Regions from separate parts of the Homo sapiens genome. Here regions 2, 3, 4 and 5 are each linked to region 1. The links are contacts of gene promoters, found by promoter capture Hi-C in blood cells and fetal thymus (Javierre and others, 2016). All regions are on one chromosome and are shown on one strand. The core of a region is centred on a gene start or on the middle of the fragment in contact, and the rest is flanking DNA. Distances in the headings are between cores, read along the strand shown.

The links. The method cuts DNA at HindIII sites, captures the fragments that hold promoters and counts their contacts. A CHiCAGO score of 5 or more calls a contact.
Region 2: the fragment with the promoter of WDPCP here is called in contact with the fragment with the promoter of CEP68 in region 1 in 5 of 17 cell types (total CD4 T cells, naive CD8 T cells, naive CD4 T cells and 2 more); the score reaches 11.7 in total CD4 T cells.
Region 3: a fragment that was not itself captured here is called in contact with the fragment with the promoter of CEP68 in region 1 in 1 of 17 cell types (activated CD4 T cells); the score reaches 6.4 in activated CD4 T cells.
Region 4: a contact is called between a fragment that was not itself captured here and the fragment with the promoter of CEP68 in region 1, in 2 of 17 cell types (activated CD4 T cells and naive B cells). The highest score is 5.6, in activated CD4 T cells.
Region 5: a contact is called between a fragment that was not itself captured here and the fragment with the promoter of CEP68 in region 1, in 3 of 17 cell types (activated CD4 T cells, total CD4 T cells and naive CD8 T cells). The highest score is 6.7, in activated CD4 T cells.

The regions. Positions count from the first base shown.
Region 1 is chr2:65,054,117-65,058,358 of GRCh38, reverse strand. CEP68 (centrosomal protein 68) reads right to left here and starts at 1,943. Exons shown (of 7, transcript NM_015147.3): 1 at 1,831-1,943. RefSeq lists silencers at 711-790, 801-850, 1,481-1,820, 1,901-2,010 and an enhancer at 2,111-2,350. The HindIII fragment of the contact is 3,790 bases long and covers 854-4,242 here.
Region 2 is chr2:63,586,230-63,590,471 of GRCh38, reverse strand. It overlaps WDPCP (WD repeat containing planar cell polarity effector), which reads left to right and starts at 1,995. Exons shown (of 18, transcript NM_015910.7): 1 at 1,995-2,275. The coding sequence starts at 2,201. It overlaps MDH1 (malate dehydrogenase 1), which reads right to left and starts at 1,509. Exons shown (of 9, transcript NM_005917.4): 1 at 1,426-1,509. The coding sequence starts at 1,428. RefSeq lists enhancers at 1,479-1,798, 2,310-2,830. The HindIII fragment of the contact is 5,833 bases long and covers 1-2,816 here.
Region 3 is chr2:63,834,784-63,839,025 of GRCh38, reverse strand. It overlaps a transcript of WDPCP not described here. Among named protein-coding and RNA genes, the nearest start is that of UGP2, 5.0 kb to the left of the region's middle. The HindIII fragment of the contact is 4,031 bases long and covers 40-4,070 here.
Region 4 is chr2:64,013,249-64,017,490 of GRCh38, reverse strand. The region is part of intron 1 of VPS54 (VPS54 subunit of GARP complex); the gene reads left to right. Among named protein-coding and RNA genes, the nearest start is that of VPS54, 4.1 kb to the left of the region's middle. The HindIII fragment of the contact is 1,079 bases long and covers 1,433-2,511 here.
Region 5 is chr2:64,032,604-64,036,845 of GRCh38, reverse strand. No RefSeq gene overlaps it. Among named protein-coding and RNA genes, the nearest start is that of VPS54, 15 kb to the right of the region's middle. RefSeq lists a silencer at 347-426. The HindIII fragment of the contact is 4,046 bases long and covers 204-4,242 here.

The sequences.
Region 1 (4,242 bases), core at 694-3,193:
GGTGATGTGCACCTGTGATCCCAGCTACTTGGGAGGCTGAGGTGAGAGGGACTCGACCCCAGGAGGTTGAGGCCACAGTGAGTTGAGATCATGCCACTGTACTCCAGCCTGGGTGATGGAGTGAGACCCTGTCTCAAAAAAAGGGATCGGATAAGGACCAAAAAACAGAGAGATCCTGAAGGGTCAAGTACTATACAGATATTTCATATTGGTGAGTGTATTCAAGTATCCATTTATTTTTCTCCTAACGACTGCTAACAGCTAACAGCTACTGATCATTTTCTTTGTGCCAGGAACTATATTAGGCACTATACATCAATATCTTATTTAATCCTAATAACTCACCACACAGGTACTACTATTATTCCCATTTTTAAGGATGAGGAAACCAAGGCACGGAGAAGTTAAATAACTTAATGACACGCCTGTAATCCCAGCACTCTGGGAGGCAGAGGCAGGAGGATTGCTTGAGCCCAGGAGTTCAAGACCAGCCTGGACAACATGGCAAGACCCCCATCACCATTAAAAAAAAAATTAATCAGAGTTAGTAACATGGCAGAGCTAAAGCCTGTTTGACTTAGAGAGCCTGAGCTTAGCTGCCTTCCTAACCTGTAAGAATAACTCGCTCAAGAAGTTAAATAAATGTTTCTGTTGTGTCACCTTTAGACTACCACGCTGATTTTGTTTCCTTTTGGCTTCCTTCCATCATTGAGTGCCTTTTATGTTCCAAGCATTGTGCTAGGGGCTGGGGAAACCACAATACAGTGTGATGAGTAAAAACAGAGGCTGCAGAAGGTAGCCCAAAAAAGGGAGGAGTTATCAGTCGCAGGGTGGGGAAGTGCTTTAAAAAGCTTTGCGCAAAAGAGGTTAAACTGAATTCCTTGGGTTTTTTGTTGTTGTTGTTTTCTAAGTGGGCCAGAATTGACTCAACAGAGGGTGGGAAAGGGGAATGGAGGGAACAAAGTAAAAAGTGGTGACTTCTAGATCTTTCAACTAAACCCAAGGCAAACTGACCCAACAACCTTTGTTACACACTTTAACACAACACTCTTCATACCCTAGATCTGAGAACTGTTAGATTATTTACAAACGCTACCTCCCTTCGTGGTCCTGATGAATTCCCAGTGAGGTCCAATCTGCCCTGGCAGGCTTCCGCTCATTTTTGTTACAAACAATACACTAAACCCAACCTACTAATCATCAAGGGCCTGGAACAGGTTTTGGACATTCGTCCCCAGGCTGCTGAGAACTGTTCTAGTGATGACAGTTAGAAAGGGTAGCCCTCCGAGGCAAAAAAAATGAGACATCTTGATTTTTTCTCTCCGCATCTGGGCGCGGCGATAAGAAGACATCACTGGTCTCCATCTTTCCAGGGGGAAAGGCCCGAGCTGCATTAGCCCCGACTGGGGAGCTGGGTAAACAGCCCACGCCCGGGAGAGGCCTGAGGGAAAGTGACCTCCCCCGGGGCCCAGGCCGACCAGCGGCGCAGCTGCTCGGCCGCCAGATGCGCGGACTCGCGCACTCCCTCGCCGCGCCCGGGCATTCCCAAGCCCAGCCGCCCGCCTCGGCCCCGACCCCTCGGCCGCCACAGCACACGCCGTTCCGCTCGCAAGATGGAGGCGAAGGCACGAGGCGCCCCCGCCCCCCAGGGAGCCTTTGTGCCCTTGCCGGCGGGGACGCGAGGCCAGACGGCCCGCACCGCAAGGGCCCCGCAGGCACCGAAGAGACGCGGGGGAGGGGGCCGGGCGCGCGCGCGGATCTAGCCCGGGCCACCGCCCCCAGCGCCGCGGCACCCCCGACACCAGCACCCGCACGCGGGACACTGCCTACCTACCGCACCGCGAACGCTTCGCACGTCCGGAGCGGTCTCAGCAGCCCCATGCGCTGGCCCCGAGCTGGCGGACCCTGACTGCAACTGCGGCCCTCCAACCGCAGCCCAAAACGCGCAGGGCAGGACCGAGCGCCAACCACGCCCTTCGGCCGCGCTGACCACGCCCTTCTTCCCGCCCCTTCTCCCTCCGCGGGAGGGCTTTCGGCAATTTCGCGCAGCGAATCGCAGCTCTAAGTCCGCGGCTCCACCAATACGTGGACGCTCCTGCAAGATGAGCCCGCCCCCTACTTCGTCCTGGCCTATGGGAAGCCGGGACTTCTTCAGCGGCTGTCCTCCCTCGCTTTTGGAGCTCCGACCTCAGCTTCGCCTGCGAGCTGGGTTGTGTAAAGGCTGGTCATTTTGGGGCGCTTAGGGGTGGGTGCCGGGGGGCGCGCTTTCCCTCGTGAAGGTCGCTCCAGGAGTCATGCGTACATTCGTTCATTTTGCTCTGGACGCACTGATGTTCCCGGCTCGCCGCCGTGCCGCAGTCACGAGGCTCTCCGAACGCCTTTCACTGTGTTTCTGTTTACATTCGCGTCTGCAAGACCCGGCGGCGCGACCGAGGCCCGAACAGGTGCTGCGAGGCGGGGCGGGGAGCCAGTGCTGAGGGGAGCTCCCCAGGCCGGGTGGTTGAAGACAGCTTCTGGGGGGAGGTGGAGCTCTGGCTCGTGGAGAATGGGAAGGGTGTGGAAAATGAACTGGTAGCTACTTAGCCACTCTGAGCAGCCTGCTCTGATGGGAAATCGGTGATGGAGTCGGAGGGAAGTGGGAGGCAGCTTGTGGGAGGCCAGGGTGCTCACTCTCTCCCCTGCCAGCATGGGACCTAGTAACTTTCATACATCTCTATCTATCTATCTATTTTGCAAAGATGGGGTCTTGCTGTGTTGCCCAGGCTGGGCTTGAACTCCTGGACTCAGACGATCCTCCCGCCTCGGCCTCCCAAAGTGCTGGAATTACAGGTGTGAGCCACTGCATCCCATCCCCTAGGAGCTTAATGACACTGCCCTTTAGCTTTTACTGCTTAGCAGAATCCGGAGGCATAGAGGAACTACCACCAGGGTGGCGTGGGGAAGAGGCCCTCCCTTCTGATGATTTTCTCTCAGCAGCACTTTCAGCAATCTGGCTTCAACTGAATATCTCCCCAGTTCATAAAACAGGCGTCTGTAAATGTCAACCCCAGCTGGGTGCAGGGTACAAATTTTTTCCTACAGAGCTCTTGAGTCCCAGGTAGTTTAGGAGACAAGGACTTGTTTGGTTTTCCCAGACCTGTCAGGACAGCTCAGAGGTTTTGTCTAACCCAGGGGCCACAAACTTTGGACAACAGCAGCAGCTAGCCCACAGATGGTTTTATTTGGGCATCGCATAGCTTTTCTTTGTTTGTTTGCTTTTGTTTTTTAATAAGAATTTGAATCCCACCACCACCACTGGTCCATTAAGTAACAGCCAGCCTTCACACATTTGCTGCCTACCTGAAGGCATTTGTGTTTGTGACCCTTGATCTTTTCTATACACAGAAGACCTCCAGTGGAGTCACCTAATCCCACAGCCAAGTCACCCCTGCTGGACAGAGAACTGTACAAAGTCCAAACAGGCGTACATATCCTGTATGGTTTCCTCATCTATAAAGAGAGGGGATAGGATGAAGGAGTCCCAAGGTTCCTTTTGGTTCTGATGTTCTGTAATTTTGTGTTGTGAGCAGCTTTTGTTTTTGCCTGACGGGAAAACTTTCCTTTGGGAATTGTCTGCAGTCCGCTGGGTCAGATGGTTCTTTAGCACCGCACTTCTCCGGTCTCCCAAGGCAGGATGGGTGTGGAGAAGGGGAGGTGTGGAACCCAGGCCTGACCAGCTGTAGTCTCCCTCCTCTTGTTTTCAGATTTCCCCAGGGATGCGCACATGACCAAACCTGAGATGATCTGAGCCCTTGTCGGGGATTTTAGAGAATGAGGCTGGGAGAAAGAGGCTCTTTCTTTTGGTGTTTCTGAGCGCGGGAAAAGTAGGCCTAGAGCTGTCTGTAGTTATACTCCTTGCAGCAGCAATGCTGGAGAACCAGGCCTGGAAATGTTAGGAACCAGCTAAGCCATCCTGCTTTGGTACTCTGATTAGGGTGCGTACCAGCTCCTTTGGTGGTGACATGAATTATTTTTCAACTCTTCTCACTTAAGATTCAAGTTTTGGGAAGGACCATTTACTTGGCCTAGTCTAGGTTATGTGCCTGTGTTCTGATTGCCAATAGGCAAAGAGAGTTCTGGTTTCTACTGTGGCTTCTAGTCTGGGAGGCCTAGCCTCATACCAAGACTCAGTGTGTGGGGGCCTCCCCTCAAATAAGAAGAATGAGACGCTGGGTTGCCAAAAGTTGCTTCACTATAGTCCGT
Region 2 (4,242 bases), core at 746-3,245, 1.5 Mb after region 1:
TAAAAATAAGTTTTCAGGGAGTTGAGTACACTGTCTCTCCCCCGCTGCGAGACCTCACTGCGGTGGTCCCTATAAAAATAAAAATTCAGAAAGACTTGGTAAGTGTAAGACACAATATAGAAAAATGGCAAGAGTGTGAGACTCTTGGAGCAAATCACATTCTCTTTGGGTCTCGATAAACTCCATTTTAAGATCTGAAGTGGGGAGATTCGTCAAGATGACCTTTAAAAGATCCCATTCAGTTCTAAAAGCAAAAAGTCCAAGGTTATCAGATAATAAGTACCTCTGCTTTCTAGCTAAGGTTATTAGGACAGAAACTACCGAAACCATAATTTAAATGACTAATTATGTGACAAAACATTTAGGAAACCTAGGTTTAACACCTACTGGAAATTAGTAGCTGTCTCCACTGGCCCCGTTAGACAGGCAGAGAGAGTAATGCCCTTGCCTTGAAAACGTGTCTTTTCAGGTTCTGGGAAATTTCCAATTCATTCAAACATTTCTCCACATTCTCCAGCCGTTTTAGTATTTTGCAGATAAAGTAGGAAAAACAGTCGCAACTATAAATACAAGCCATTGTATTGATAGTATGAAGCGATTTCTCTGAGTTTGATGACAAATGTCACCTTCAAGCAGTACGCAGATTATTCCTACGCCAGAGTTCCTTCACCAACTCTCCCCCTCCCCCTCTCTTTCAGCAGAGACAAGCGATGGAGATGCAGGTTACCCAGGTCTTCCATGACAAAATGGTTACTCTGTTACATTTAAGAGAGGTGCTTCTGGAATTCACAATATACAGTTCAATAAAGAATATTTGCAGTAGTTATTTAGTTAGTGATGCTGTCACTTCAATATATCCTGGCATTACAAAAAAGGTCAATGAACGGGTTCCAAATAACATTTTGAGAAATTAGATATGGCGGAAACACGTCTGCTGCAAACGCAGATCGTAATCTGGAGCACCTGGTAAATACTACCTTTCCAGCTTTTTGCTTTCAAGGTCCCTGTGACAAAAGCCGTTATAAACACTGTGGGCAAATGAGGAGAAAAAGGGGTTAGGACCCAACCTTTCCCTCCCATCGCAAACCTTATCGTCCTTATCAAACACCGTAACGTCCTTTGGAAAATAGCTGCAGCGTCGCATTTTGTCCTCCCGTCATGCAGCAGGATTAAGATCGCTCCTCTCCCAGGACAACTACTTCTCCAGAGTCCTCCTAAGAGCGCCCCATACCCCGCAAGGTGGAAATCAATCCCTTCCCATTACTGGGTCACTGCGGCAATCCCCAGAAGATGAGTCCGAGCTTGCCAAAGGGCGCGAAGGACAGTGCCTTGCACAGCTGCCTCCCAAAAGTCCCTAAAGTGCAAGAAACCCCACTCAAGGGCGCGAGGGCCAGAGGTGGGCAGGAACCCGGGGCCCACACTCACCATGATTGAAAACTGCGGGGACAATTTCAACAACTGCAAAATGAGCCTCAGAGAGTCAGGTCACCTCTACCGCGGAACTGACTCGGAGAGGGCGAGCGGTGTTAGCGAGAAAAGGCTCCGCTCCCGACGCGGCGCTCTCTGGGAACTGTAGTTTACGCTGCCCTGGTTGTGGCGCAATCTCCAAAGCATTTCCTTCAAGTGTTGAACTACACTTCCCGATACCAGAGGTTTTTTTCAAGCTCTTCTCACTGCGCTCTGCGCCGATTGCAAAGTAGTCCCTGAGGATGAGCCCCTGTGATTGGAGGACGACAACAAACGGATGGTTTGGGCTCAGGAGGAAAGGACCTGCCTGATGGAGCCCGGCAATTGGCGGGAGAGATAGCGTGTGTAACTCTAGGGAGGGGAGAATCACCCCTTAGCGACATCACCCCCACGCGCGTGACTGAGACTGCATCCTCCCATGAGGGTAAACGTGGGAGGTAAAGAGACCTTCCGCTGCGTAAAGCTGGATCGACCCGGAAACAAAATCTTTTAAAAAACGATTGACACTCTGGAGGGGCGGGGGAATTGATAAGTTGGGACGACCGGACAGCTTCTCAGGTTGCTAAGCGACGAGGCGGGAGCGCACGCACACCCTGGCTGCTTTGTAGCACCTGAGGAAACTGTGGCGGCGGCGGCGGCGTCCTGGAGACCCAAGAGACCAAGCGAGCGTGTCGCTCCCTCTCGGGTCCGAGGACCTAGCCTAGGAACCTTCTGCCCGGGGTAGTGTCTGGTGATGAGGCGAGAGTTTTGCTGGGACGCCTACTCCAAAGCGGCCGGGAGTCGCGCTTCTTCCCCACTCCCGAGACAGGTGAGCCCTGGCCCGAGGGCAAGGGGTTTTCTTTTAACCTTAGGATCCGGAATGCGGTTGGTGCGCCGTCCCGCTTTGCTTTTATCCGCTGTGCGGATGCCTGCAAGCTCGCCGGTCCCTTTTCTGAGCGGAGTATGAGGGCTGTGGGAATGCAGCTATTTTGGAGGGGGTGGTGCCCTGGAGTAGGTGCACCCCCGACCCCAAATGGAGCTCTTCCAGAGTTATATCAAAAATATTTATTGAGCATTTACTTTGTAGGAGGTGAGCCTCTCCCTTCCAGGAGGTCACAGTATACGGTTCTAATTTGCTCTAAGCCCTCCGTGAATGTTGAGTTTTGTCCATTCCCTTTTGGAAGAAACAGGATGCGCCTTAAACCATCTTGAGTCTTAAAGTTATGCCAAACAGGCATTTCTAAGGAAAGACTGGCGACTGAAGGGGAGACACTGGTTGTTTAGTCAGTCAGTCTCAGCTGGTAAAACAACTTAAGAGGTTCTCTTTAAAATTAATGCTGCCAAGAGAATTGCTGTGCTTTTTGAAAGCTTGTTTCTTGTGGATGTTAAAAGGAAGATATGATGCTCGGGAGTAGCATACACAGCATATACGTAATGAAAATGAATAAAACATCTCTATTAGATAACATTGTTAGAACTTCCGTTTTTTCTCTGTCACTGATAAATGAATGCCAAGTAATATCTTTCAATTTTTCTCTATTTCAGTTTGGAGGATTTGCTATTTTTGGAAAGAAATGTAATGCTTTACTTTTAGCATTTATTAATATCATACCTGAATGACTCTCCTTGTATCTCTTTATTCATTTGGCTCTCAGACAACATACTTTCCTGGTTTTCCTCTTTTGTTACTGGTTCTCAGTTCTGCGGAGTTTCTAAATTTTTTTTAGTTGTGATCTCTTAACATTGGGGTGCCTGTATTCTCTGTCTATACTAAATCCCTCAGTGAGCTAATTCATAAGTTGCATCACTTCAAATGCTACTTTTAATGTCAAAAACTCTCAAATTTATGTGTCTAGTCCTGAATTAGTAGGTGTGCATTATTCTCAAACCTAGGTTCTCTGAGTTTTACTTTTTACTCTGAGCAGTTACGAAAAATTTCTTCCATTATCCTCCTAAATGAATTCTTCTACTAGCTGCTAACAGAAAGATTTTTCCATGTTGTTGTCCTTAAAAATATCATGATTTTACCTAATGTAAATGACGAGTTAATGGGTGCAGTACACCAACATGGCATGTATACGTACATATGTAACAAACTTGCACGTTGTGCACATGTACCCTAGAACTTAAAGTATAACAAAACAATCTCATGATTTTTGTCCTCGATTTACAGTGAATTTTACAAGGGAGACTTTTTATAACCAGAATTCTCACTGCAGTCCTATAGCAGGACAGGACATTCCCATACTCCAAGAAGGCCACAAACATGTAAGCCCCCGTATTCCCATCCAGTCCAGATATACAGAATTGAAGTCACCTGTGTGGTAGTTCACGGGCCTTGTTCTGTTTATTGCTAGTTGCCCTTGTAAATCAGGTTAAGGAGCATATTAGCACTGATTGTAAGTTACTTTTCTCAGGTAATATAATACACTGCAAGAGAAGATGTTTGGTAAGGTGGGTATATCAGCACATTTCCAATTATACTAATAAGATTGTCTGTGTTCTCTTCCTTTTGAACCGTCTTTGGTAATAGCTAATGTCAAGTAGCACAATATGTCATTGCACTTTCACTGTGAGTTTGAATCTCCAGGTGGTTTGTGAATGTGTTGCAGACATTCATTTTTTGTTAAGGCAACAAACAGAGCATTAAACTGTTATGCTATATTTGGAGTTATGCTTAACATTTTTTTTGCCCAGCCTCGCGTTATTTAGTAAGGTAATATTTAATTCAAATTGTAGAAAATGTTTGAAATACCATTCTAACAACATCCAGCAAAGATATTAAAGGATCATTAA
Region 3 (4,242 bases), core at 806-3,305, 1.2 Mb after region 1:
TCAGTCACTAGTTCTTAGAGAAGTAGCACTCTAGAAGCTTAGTTTCCAAATATTTCCAAACAGTACTTATAAAATGAAATTTCTTTATACATCGGTATAAATTTAAATTTTGAACCCACAAACACTTTGTAAGCGAGCTTCCCACTCTCTCAGAGCCACTAAGAACAACCTCACTTGACAAATCCTGTGGAGATAGGAAAGAAAGAGGTGGAGTTCTTAATGGCCATGGAGCAAAGACATGCTTAGAAAGCAGTTACCTATTTCCCTTTATATATTTCAGTCATTGAAAAATTGCTTTCTCTGGGCAAGTATGTGTATCTTTAATCCTTTTTTTCATAAGATACTACTCTGGAATATCCCTTCAAGGTGCATGATGTTGATAATCTGTATCATTAGAAATCTGTAACATCGGTAGATTTATAGATTTTACCTTTGCAGAAACCTGGGGTGGGGGGATCCAAAGAATGAAGATGGGGGCTGATAAGAGTGTGTACAGGGTTAAGGAGCTGGAGTGAAATGGATTGTGAATTAGAAAGAAAGCCTGGAAGCCAGTTTTTGTCTGGTTCCATATGCGACCATCCACGGATGATACAAATTCTGCCTATAATTTCTTCCTTCTTTCTACTTTCCCATAGAAACTTGAGGAAACTCAGTTTGGTTTACCCAGTCCCATATCCTAGGATGTATAACAACCTCACCATATCTTTTTCCTTTGCTTTAGACAGGAGCTCTCTATCAACAGCAAGGAAACCATGTCTGTGGTCCTATTTCTAAGCATCTTTTTTGGTGCCTTTTTAGATTTAATGCTTGGCACAGTGTCTGGTACATAGCGAACATTCCATAAGTATATATTGAATGACCAGTTTAGTGCCACTAAATCATTTTAACTCACAGTGTTGTATCCTACTCTCCACTCTTTTTTTTTTTCTTTGAGATAGAGTTTCGCTCTGTCACCCAGGCTGGAGTGCAGTGGTGCGATCTCGGCTCAATGCAACCTCCACCTCCTGAGTAGCTGGATTCTCCTGCCTCAGCCTCCTGAGTAGCCAGGATTACAGGTCCCCACCTGGCTAGTTTTTGTATTTTTAGTAGAGACAGGGTTTCGGCGTGTTGGCCAGGCTTGTCTCAAACTCCTGACCTCAGGTAATCCTCCTGCCTCAGACTCCTCAAGTGCTGGAATTACAGGCGTAAGCCACAGGCCCGCCCCTACTCTCTGCTCTTTGAGAGCCATATAAAACATAAAAAGTTTATATTTAGAGATAACGTTTTTTAAGTTTCAGTTATTTCCACCTAGGAGATGAACCTGGGCCAAATTATAAGAATAATAGCAGCAAATGCCCTGATGACTTTACAATAAGCTGTGTTAACTACCCATGAGCATTATCTAATAAGGAGTGGTGTAGGAATTGTTAAAGGTATGAAATAAGTATACAGATCATCAATGTGTGTGGTCCTTTATTTTTTCTTGCCTATCCTCTACATTCAAGAAAATAAAGCAGTGTAGTTTGAGCGAACATGTACTAGACATAAAAATTTCTGTGTCATGCCCAAAGTGTTTAGCCAAGAGACCAGGCAACAGTTATCCACTGGACTGTTGCCCATACTCAATATTGGCTCCCATCTGTACCCATCTAAATCCTAGGCCACCCACATGAGAGAGGAAAAAGGGGCTACTGTTACTCAGTCAGCAGTTGCCAGTAACTGACTACATCTAACAATAGGGCATTTCACTTGAGTAAAAAGGTAACCAAACGGGCTTAACTGGAAAAAGATATCAAATTATATCTATGAGATGGACTACTAATGAATGAGTTGTCTAAAAATGAATGGGTTTCCAAATACTTGAGGAAGAGAAAGACTTCATTCTTTCCTGTTGCCAACACCCTGTTAATGAACCAGGAAGTTTGCTGAAACAAGTTGTGAATTTAAATTATGACATATCCTTCCATTTGTTCACAGTATGATTTTTAAGTTATATTTGAGAGTTATATAACTTTTACATCAGAGCAGTAGCAATTATTTCAAATAACTGAGATGCTTTAAAAAATGAAGTTAGTTCACATTATGGATAGTTAATTAAAGGTTCATAAACCAATCTTCTAAGTGGTTTTAAAAGTCATTAGGCTCCCAAGCATGTTTAATCAAAACATACATTATCTTGTTCATGTTTATCAATAATTCCCCTCTAGATTCTCCTTTGAAAGTTGAAGGAAGCAGGTCCTTACTATTTTGTTTTCTGTTTAGTCTGTTCTGCATGTTCCCCAGAGGAGAGTGTTGGTGAGAAATGGTGACACCCATGAGGTTGTTGTATTTCTCTCATGTGCAAAACTGTATCTCCAAATTGTGTCCGCCCCTTTGATGATAGAGGCAATAGAGCCATTCCCTTTAGTGAATGGCCCAGGAAAAAACATAAATAAACTCCCTATATTCTCTCAGGGTTTTTAACAAGCGTAGATTGTTATGTGATTATAATTTGAAAAGATAAAAAAACTAATAAGAAACCATCTTTTACCAAACTCATAGAATAAATATTATTTTGATTTACTGTAGTGATATATGTATAGAAGTTCAGGTTACTTATTGACTTTCAAATCCTCACAGAGAAGAGTTGTGAAAGAGAAAAGCATTCAGTTTAATTCTATTTTTTCTGCCTCTTTCAACTATATGAAAGATTCCCTGTTGTGCATTCCATCAAATGACTTTTGATGGTTTTCTAAACATCTCTGCCTCTGGTCTAGTTTATTAAATTTCCTGCTAGTGCCACCACTGGAAAGGAAAGGATAAAGAACTTCTGTTTCCTAACTTAGTCTCAGGGAATGTATTTTAAGCATTTCACACCCACCAACCTAACGAAATATTAAAGAGAAGATTCTCAGCTGGGTGCAATGGCTCACAGCTGTAATTCCAGCACTTTGGGAGGCCAAAGCTGGTGGATCATCTGAGGTCAGGAGTTTGAGAGCAGCCTGGCCAACGTGATTAAACCCCCTTCTCTACTAAAATACAAAAATTAGCTGGGCTTGGTGGCAGGCGCCTGTAATCCTAGCTACTTGGGAGGCTAAGGCACAAAACTCACTTGAACATGGGAGGCGGAGTTTGCAGTGAGCTGAGGTCACGCCACTGCACTCCAGCCTGGGCTACAGAACAAGACTTTGTCTCAAAAAATAAAAATAAAATAAAGAGAAGATTCTCAGGACTGCTTTTTGGGTGAAGATTAAATAATTGAATAATTCTATGTCATTAGATGGATAATATGATTAGAGAATAAAAGGTAACTACTTTTTCTCTCTAATGAAAAAGAGGAGGTATGTCATATTTAGAGAAAAAACTACAGGAAAAAATATGAAATACTAATGTTAAGTTCTGGTGCCATTTTATTATTTTTTTTATTTAATTTTTTTTTTTAGATCACATAGCTACTATGTGACAGAACCAGGATCTGAACTGAAGCTATCTGACTCCAAAAACCCACAGGGAGGAAAATTTTCTCCCTTCGGTTTCTGGAGGTTGATTTGCTACCCCTCTCCATCAAAACAGAAAGGAGTGCAAATGGTCAGGCCTTTATCCGGGACAAGTAATCTCTTAATGACTGAAGTTCTCTAGTAATACTGTTTTCTTCTTTTTTTTTTTTTTTTTTTTTTTGAGATGGAGTCTCGCTCTGTCACCCAGGCTGGAGTGAAGTGGTGCAGTCTCTGCTCACTGCAACCTCTGCCTCCCAGGTTCAAGCAATTCTCCTGCCTCAGTCTCCCAAGTAGCTGGGATTACAGGGGCCTGCCACCTCACCTGGCTAATTTTTGTATTTTTTTTGGTAGAGACAGGGTTTCACCATGTTGGCCAGGCTGGTCTCAAACTCCTGACCTCAAGTGATCCGCCCACCTCGGCCTCCCAAAGTGCTGGGATTACAAGTTTGAGCCATGACGCCTGGCTTCTGGTGCCATTTTAAATTGCACTTCAATTTTTTTTTTAAATTTCAGTAAGAATACACAGCTTAAAAAAAAAATCCAGATAGTACCAAAATGCCAATAATGAATAGCAGTACTTTTTTCTAGAAAGTACTTTAAAATAATGATGAAGCTTTAATTTATAAAACATGCATGCATTGTTGGATCAGTCAGACCAAAACTACTTTGGATGCCACAAAAAGGGCACTTCAGCTGCTAACGAAAAATATCCGATGTCTACGAAATCAGAGTTTCAGAGCCACCAGAGCTGCACCATCCAGGAGCTCCATGTTGGCTGCAATGTGCT
Region 4 (4,242 bases), core at 723-3,222, 1.0 Mb after region 1:
CTTATATTTTCTGGAAAGTTAAAATTGATTTCTGGATAAGATAATTTTTTGTGTCAGAATTAAAGTCAATTCCTATATAGCCCATGAAACGGCAAATTTTGCAGAATTTCTTCATCACACTCTTTTTTTTTGTTTCTTTTCTTTTTTTTTTTTTGAGACGGGGTCTTGCTCTGTTGCCCAGGCTGGAGTGCAGTGGCGCTATCTTGGCTCACCGCAACCTCCGCCTACCGGCTTCAAGTGATTCTTCTGCCTCAGTCTCCTGAGTAGCTGGGACTACAGGCGCCCCCACGCCTGGCTGATTTTTGTATTTTTAGTAGAGACGGGGGTTTCACCATATTAGCCAGGCTGGTCTTGAACTCCTGACCTTGTGATCCACCGGCCTCGGCCTCCCAGAGTGCTGGGATTAGAGGTGTGAGCCACCGCCCCGGCCCCGGCCCATCACACTCTTTTTTTTTTTTTTTTTTTTTTTAATCAACAAAAGTTAATTACAATTCCTCTTTCCTGCTCTTTGCTTTTTAAAAACTGCTTTATTGAGATAAAATTAACATACCATAAAATACACCCATTTAAGGTGTACCACTTGGCCGGGTTCAGTGGCTCACACCTGTAATCCCACCACTTTGGGAAGCCTAGTCAGGTAGATCACCTGAGGTCCAGAGTTCGAGACCAGCCTAGCCAACATGGTGAAACCCCGTCTGTACTAAAAATATATAAATTAGCCGGGCATGGGGGTGAGCGCCTGTCATCCCAGCTACTGGGGAGGCTGAGGCTGGCGAATCGCTTGAACCTGGGAGGTGGAGGTTGCAGTGAGCCAAGATAGCACCACTGCACTACAGGCTGGGTGACAGAACGAGACTCCATCTCAAAAAAAAAAAAAAAATATACAATTCAGTGGTTTTTAGATTAAATAATTGTGCAACCATCACCATAATCTAATTTTAGAACATTTTCATCATTCCCTCAAAAAACCTTTATCCATTAACAGTTACTCCCCATTCTCTTCACCCCACCCCCAGCTTTAGGCAACCACTAGTCTACTTTCTGTCTCAATATTGGCCTAATGTGGGCCTTTCATATAATGCTTCTTGGCTCATAGCTTCTTGAAAAGCTTTTCCTTTAAAATCAGTGTACATGTTAAAATTTTTTATTTGAGCTAGGGAATAAGCAACTGATCACCAATATTAAAAGTGATGTTGTAAATAACTGATACACTTTTTGGTTGTATTCAGCATAAAGTTGGAGAAGGCATGAATGGCTTCAGTAACCTCAAGAGGTAGTTTGGTCAGCTCGGAATCAATAAGTAAAAGTGGGCATTTTTGTCATTGAATATTAGAATATCAGGGAAAAGATCTTAAAGGTCATCAGCTTACTTCCTGCTTACCTCGCTATTAGTTGGCAGCAACCAGATGAGGAAACATGGAGATTAGAAGCTTGAATCTCTAGGATGTGTGGCTCAAGAACCACAGCGTGGCCATGTAAAGCAAGAAATGGGACTTTGGAAGTTAGAATTGTTTAGATTCTTGTATATATGTATGTATTTGACATTTTGCTAGCAGAGCTGAGAAAGAACTGGACATTCCCCCAACTTTGGGGGAAAAGTGGGTGACTATATGTAGCTACATTGATGAAACCCATGTTACAAAATCCTCTAAAAATGCTTTAACCTAAGGAAGGGTAGCAAATGTATTATTTAGATATCTTCTTATACTATTAATGTCTTATTTTTTTAAATCCAAATTTTAAAAAAATATAATTAACAGGGCCAGTTGGAGGTTTCCTTTTTCAAATATCCAGTGCCCTAACATCTAAAACAATGGCTCTGCGAGGACGGTTTTGACTCCAAGGGAAATTTGGCAGTGTCTAGAGACATTTTTGGTTGTCATAGCTGAAGGAAATGGTATTGGCCAAGGATGTTGCTAAATACCCTACAATGCACAGGACATACTTCTGCAAGAAATTATCCGGTTCAAAATGTCAATGGTACCATTGTAAACCTAGGGGCTGCACGATTTCTGGTAAGGACCTAGTGTTTTTGATTCCTACCAGGTGGGAGAATAGTCTCAGTGGGCGATGTTTGGTGAATTAGATTAACACCTTAGATCCTCTAGCAACTAACTCTATTTCTTTGCAAGAGGAGGAATTGAGGGAAAAATAAAAGGAAATCTGTTTACGACATGACGCAGATACTGTTTCGTATGTTTAGGTTGTCTTCAAATCTGAAAAAAGAACCCCTTTTTTTCTAAAAACAGACTTAATTTACTGCAAATTTGGACTACTATTGTTTTGAATTGTTATTTTTGCATATGTTTTTGAAATTGTAAATAGAATATAGTCATATCTTTTTTATCCAGAAGTGATTTTTTTTTTTCCTGGCAGCTTCAACTACCAAGAAAGGAGAAGTAAGCTAAGTGTTTAACTTTATGGATAACACTTATGTTATATATGTATGTATAACACTTATGTTATGTATGTATGTATGTATGTTGTGAATGTCCAGAAAAATTCCAAGCTTATAATGAATCTTTTTTTCCCCTATGAGCTCCACTTTAGACTATTTAATGTTTTTAACAAGCTTAATTTGTTGATGAAAGAAGGTAATTGACAGTTGAGATCACTTTTGCTATTTATCATCCATACCTTATGGATAAGTTACTCAAGTTATTCTTTCTGAGCCTCAGTTTTCTCATCTATAAAATAGGGGTAGTGATAATCCATGTATTACAAGGCTATTGTAAGAATTATTAAATGAGGTAATATGTATTAAGATGCAGTGTCAACTATAATATACTGTAGAAGAGTTATTCGCTTCAGAAGAATCAAATTAGGAAGGAATATAGAGGTTGTCAAAGGCAGGAATGTAGATAGTAAGGCGGAGAATAGTGATGGCTGACAGCCTCTCTAGGGAGGAGAGAAGCACTAAATACAAATATTGATAACAAACTAGTAAAATAACTAGTATATCACTATAATCTGAAACTCCTTAATATAGGGGCAAACTGACTTCCTTCTGTAGCACCTGAGAGTATCACCGTTATAGCACAGTAAAATAACTGATTATTATAATGGTGAAATTAACTTATTAAGAAAAGATTACCTTGTTTTCAAATATGCTATTTGAGAAGACTTGAAAATATATATATTTTACTTCAGAGTTAAAATTTTTGGAAGTGACTTATTCAAAAAGTTTTAGTGTTTTTAAGAGTATGCTGTCGTTATTTGGATTAATTCCCTTTTGGGGAATAATCCTTTTGTCTTCATTTACTATGCCTGCCTTCCTGTGTATTTGAAGGGTTTTTCTATTATCTGAAGGTAATTATTCTTCAGATGTGAGAATTTAACTGAAGAAATAGGGGTTGTAAGCCTGCTCACCATTTGTAAAATCTCATTTCCTTCTAGATTTCTTTTAAAATTATTTTTCATCTTTCTGGCGTGTCACTACGCCCAGCAAATTTTTGTATTTTAAGTGGAGACAGGGTTTCGCCATGTTGGTCAGACTGGTCTCGAACTCCTGACCTTGTGATCTACCTGCCTCGGCCTTCCAAAGTGTTGGGATTACAGGTGTGAGCCACCGCGCCTGGCTGGTTTCTTAAAATTTTGTTAACTGGTCACCTTTCTTTCAGAATCATATAAAAATAAGGGTAGAGGTGGTCAAAGGCCCAGCTATTCAGTAAGATTTTTATGGGGTAATTTGAGGGTGGAATAGTTGCAGACAATATTCAGAATAAGTAATGTGGTATTGATTGGTATTATATATGATATATATATATCTCTCTATATGATATATATATCTCTATATATGTGATATATATCAATATATAGATATATATATCAATATATATCTATATATTGATATATATTTATATATAAATGCTGATATATATCATATGATATATATTGATATATATTTATATATAAATGCTGATATATATATCATATATATATATCAGCATTTACTTAATAACATTATTTGATGTATACTCTATACTTAAATCTTCCCATTTGTCCCAAAAATCTTTATAGCTTTTTCCCCCCTCAAATGCAGGATTCATTCAAGGTTAATGCATTGCATTTGGCTGGTATGTCTCTTTAAGTCTCCCCCAATCTGGACTAGTCCTACCGCCTTCCTCTCTTCTTTAGGTTTATCCATTGAGAAGTAGAGACCATATGTCCTGGAGCATGTTCCACATTCTGAATTGGTCTGTTCCTCATGATTAGATTCTAGTCAGACATTTCTGGTGAGAC
Region 5 (4,242 bases), core at 977-3,476, 1.0 Mb after region 1:
TACACTGTCTGAACACTGGCAATGCTGAGTCCATGAAGTCATAAGAACTACATCTTTATCCTTGGAAAAGATGAGACATTGGTCAAAGAGAGCCTGATGTGACAAAGTGAAATTAATACAACTCCATTCCTACTATTCCATTAATTAAACACATATTTATAATTATTTATAAATATTTGTTCGTTGCTTATTATATAAAAGCTTATGACAATGCAGAGAATACAGAGATAAATAATGAATCGTATGCAAAGATCTAGTAAGGGAAACTAACCACATAATAAGTCACATAGCCACATTACTAGGCAGGAAATGACTAGTGCTGCATGAGAGGTATGGAGGAGGGATTCAGAGTAGAAGATTACTCTTTCTTAGTAGTGAGGTCAGAGATTGCTGTTTGCACTACACTGCATTTTTAAAAGGGTATTTGAAGAAGAGGTCAAATTTGAATATGCAGAATTGGGCATGTGGGAGCTGGGAAGGAGCCCAGGGAAGGCAATTCAAGCAAAAAAGAAAACAAAACAAAATGAAACTCATATAATTTTTCTTACAAATAATGGGGAAGTAGCTGTAAACACACTAGCTATTATCCTTATCATCATCATCATTATGTGGACACTATGTGACACACGGACCACTTTGCCCACCATGTTAATTTGCTCCCAACCTTACTTATTGTACTAGCCATTGTGTTCTTCCAGCAGAATCTTCAGTGTTAGCCCAAAAGTTCTTGGGGTCTAACCACCTGAAACATGATTTTGTTGACTCTATCGCTAAACGTTAAAATGTGTGATTATTCAGTAAAAAATATATACCTTCTGTCACTTTTTTTCCCCATGATTCCTTTGCCATTGTGAATAATATCCTCTTAAAATGCCACATAAAATCATACATCTCTGGTATTCTCATTAAAACTAAAATGTATTTTAAATTCTCTTGTTCCTGTATTCAACCAGATAAAAAGGAGGAACAGATCAATTTTCACGTGCCCTCTGTAATTGCAATTTTCAGTACTTCAACCATGTCCCTTTATACTCTTTTCTATTTTGCAGGCTAAATAATCACTTTGAGTCAGTTGCCGCAGTGAAACTTGAAACCTGATCATTGAAGAAGCCTGCAAGTTAGCAGAAAACAAGTCATACCAGGATCTGCTGCTCCAGCTGCATATTGAAGATTCAAGTCTGTTTAAAAATACCCTTATATTTCCAGTTAGTTTCATTGCTATAATATAATTCAAGCCTTAAATAACTTTCCAAAGTTGTTTTCTTGAAGAATATTATATAGTCATACCTACCCACAACTTCTAGGTGGCTCACCATAATCTTATAAGATTATAGTGATGTGATATATAACTATATAGTGATATGATATATGATATAGTGATGATGTATAACTATAATCTTATAAGACTATAGTGATATGATATACAACACTGCTTAAGCATAATTTGTGGGAAATGACATGTGCTGGTTACATGAATTTTCTGGTTAAGCCCTTTTATCTTTCAATCTTGTCACATGATTCAGGATTTTGAGTTGCTTCGTTTCTGAAAATGATGCTGTTATTGAGAGCAGAACCTATGCGGCTAGATGCTGTTTTGATATTATTTTGCTGCTGTTTCATTTGTTGTTGTCATTTGTCTCTATTAAGGGCAGATCCTTTCCCCTTCTCTCTTCTCTCTGTCTCTTCTCTCTCTCTCTCCCTTTTTCTGTCTGCTTTATGTATGTGTGTGTGTGTGTGTGTGTGTGTGTGTGTGTGTATAATTGAGGTGCCAATTAATGCAAGTTAATCGGGTTCTGATTAACTTGGGGTTTTACTGTTAGCAGGCCAAATTACCTCACCCCTAGAAACACCTGGAATATATTCCCTTCTTTTTCTTGTCCCAGTCACTATTCCTTCTTAATGAAAACGAAACAAAACTTATTCACAAAGCCATGTCTCCCAACTACTTGTGAAAACCCATTGTTAACAGCTATCAAAAGCCCATTTATACTTAAATTTGCCAAGCTGATATTTGGTAGTTCTGAATATATAAAACTCCTTTGGTTATCAAGAGAGAATACAGCCTATATTAGTTTGTTCTCATGCTGCTATGAAGAAATGCCGGAGACTGGGTAATTTATAAAGGAAAGAGGTTTAAGTGACTCACAGTTCCACAGGGCTGGGGAGGCCTCAGAAAACTTACAATCATGGTGAAGGGGGAAGCAAACACGTCCTTCTTCACATGGCAGCAGGAAAGAGAAGAATGAGAGCCAAGTGAAGGGGGAAGCCTCTTATAAAATCATCAGATCTCATGAGAACTTACTATCATCAGAATAGCATGGGGGAAAATGTCCCCACGATTCAATTACCTCCTACTGGGTCCCTCCCACAACATGTGGGGATTATGGGAACTACAATTCAAGATGAGACTTGGGTGGGGACACAGCCAAACCATATCACAGCCTATAAGGTATGAAGAAATAGGGCAGATCTAACAATGATTTGCACAGTCCTAAGCCCTAGACAGTGGGGGAAATGGTTGGCATACCAAAAAGTCACCACTACCACCATTAATTTATTCAGCAAATTTGTAAAAAGTCTACTATGTGCAAATCACTATACTAAGGGCCATAAAGAGGACAAGGCATGATCTAGTAGTTTAATATGGAGACTAATAGTTTGAGCAGAGCTAGTATGTCACACATGCCATGTTCATGGTTCAGGAAATAATATGACAATTCAAAGGAGGATGATGTCACTTCTGGGTATGTGATAAAGGAAAATTTTGTAAAAGAGATGATGTCTGAGCTGATCCTTGAAGAAGGTGTAAGAGTTTAGTAAGCAGAGTTGACAGAGTCCAGTGAAAACAAAGAGGCAGGAAAGCCCAAGTCTGTTCAGGGGCTGTGAGGAAAGATGCGTGAAGGAGAAAAATGACAAAAAGGGTTAGAAAGGCAGGTAGGATTCAATCAGGGAAAACTACTCCCAGCTACATTTTGAACCTTATTCCAAATAAATGAACAGTTTTGACCAAAGCCCTGGTCAAGGGCTCAGACTTTTTATCAGATAGATTTGAGCTCCAATCCTGATTCTACTTACTATTTATGACCTTAAGCAAGTCACCTACCTTACCTCTCTAAGCCTCAGGTTGATCACCTCTATCTCACAGGGCTGCTATCAGGTTTAAGTATAACTGGGATATGAAACACTCACTCATTCTGAAAATATTTACTGACCCTTCACTGTATATGTCCCAGACACTGAGCTTTGTAGTGCTAATACAGAGATAAAGGTAGAAACCCTTCCTTCAAGGAACACATGAGCCAATGCGTAAGGCAGATAAGTAAACAGAAAACTACAATATAGTATGAGTGAGCACAGGGGCAGAGGTGTTCAATAACTCAGATCAGGGGTGGGGGTGGTAAAGAAAACTGACCAGAGGAGGTACTCCCTGAGGCATCTCAAAGGATCCTTTGAAGAGGGATAGAAATAGAACTTACTTTCTAAGGTCTGATTATTTTTATTAGCCTTTATGTTAACATGCAGTTTCTAGCAGAAACAAACATTTAAAACTCTAAATAAATTTTTGTTGTTATTGTTATTCACTTTCATCTGTCTGGTTAATTGTTTTTGTCTTATTTCGAAGTCAGAAAAATAGAGATGGAGTAGGAGAGAGTACCTTATTTCTCAGGTGACCAAAGAGAAGAAGAAAAGAGTCCATTTGCAATCATGATAGCAGTGGAAGAGCCAAATCCCTGGGACATGTGATAAAATGAAGGAATTAAAGGGAAGTTAGCTTAACACGAAGTAGGAAATCCAGGTTCTCATTTGCAGGAGATCTGTTACAGACATTTGTTGGGTTTACAACCCATATTTATTTCCTCTTTTGAAACAGGGCCACAGTTTTGTTTTGTTTGAATCTTTACCTATTTTTATTATACGTGTTCTGGTGAAGCTGACTCCATTTGACTCTGGCTTCATGAGTTGGCTGTGATTCAGGCTTGGCCAATTAGAGTCTCACACTGGCCACGGTGATTGGATCAGAGATGAAGGCATGCTCCAATTAGAGCCAGTCAGAGGCAACGTGGGACTTTTGCTGAACTCCTAAGACAAGTATGCCTTGACTTCTACTTGTTTGAACGTGGGAAGTTGTAGACTAGGAGCTGCTGGTCGCTACTTTGCCACCACTTGCAGCCTTAGATTGAAGCCAGTCAACAGGGAGGAGAGCAGGGATCCTCATAGAAGAATGTAAAGTCCATGGGGGCA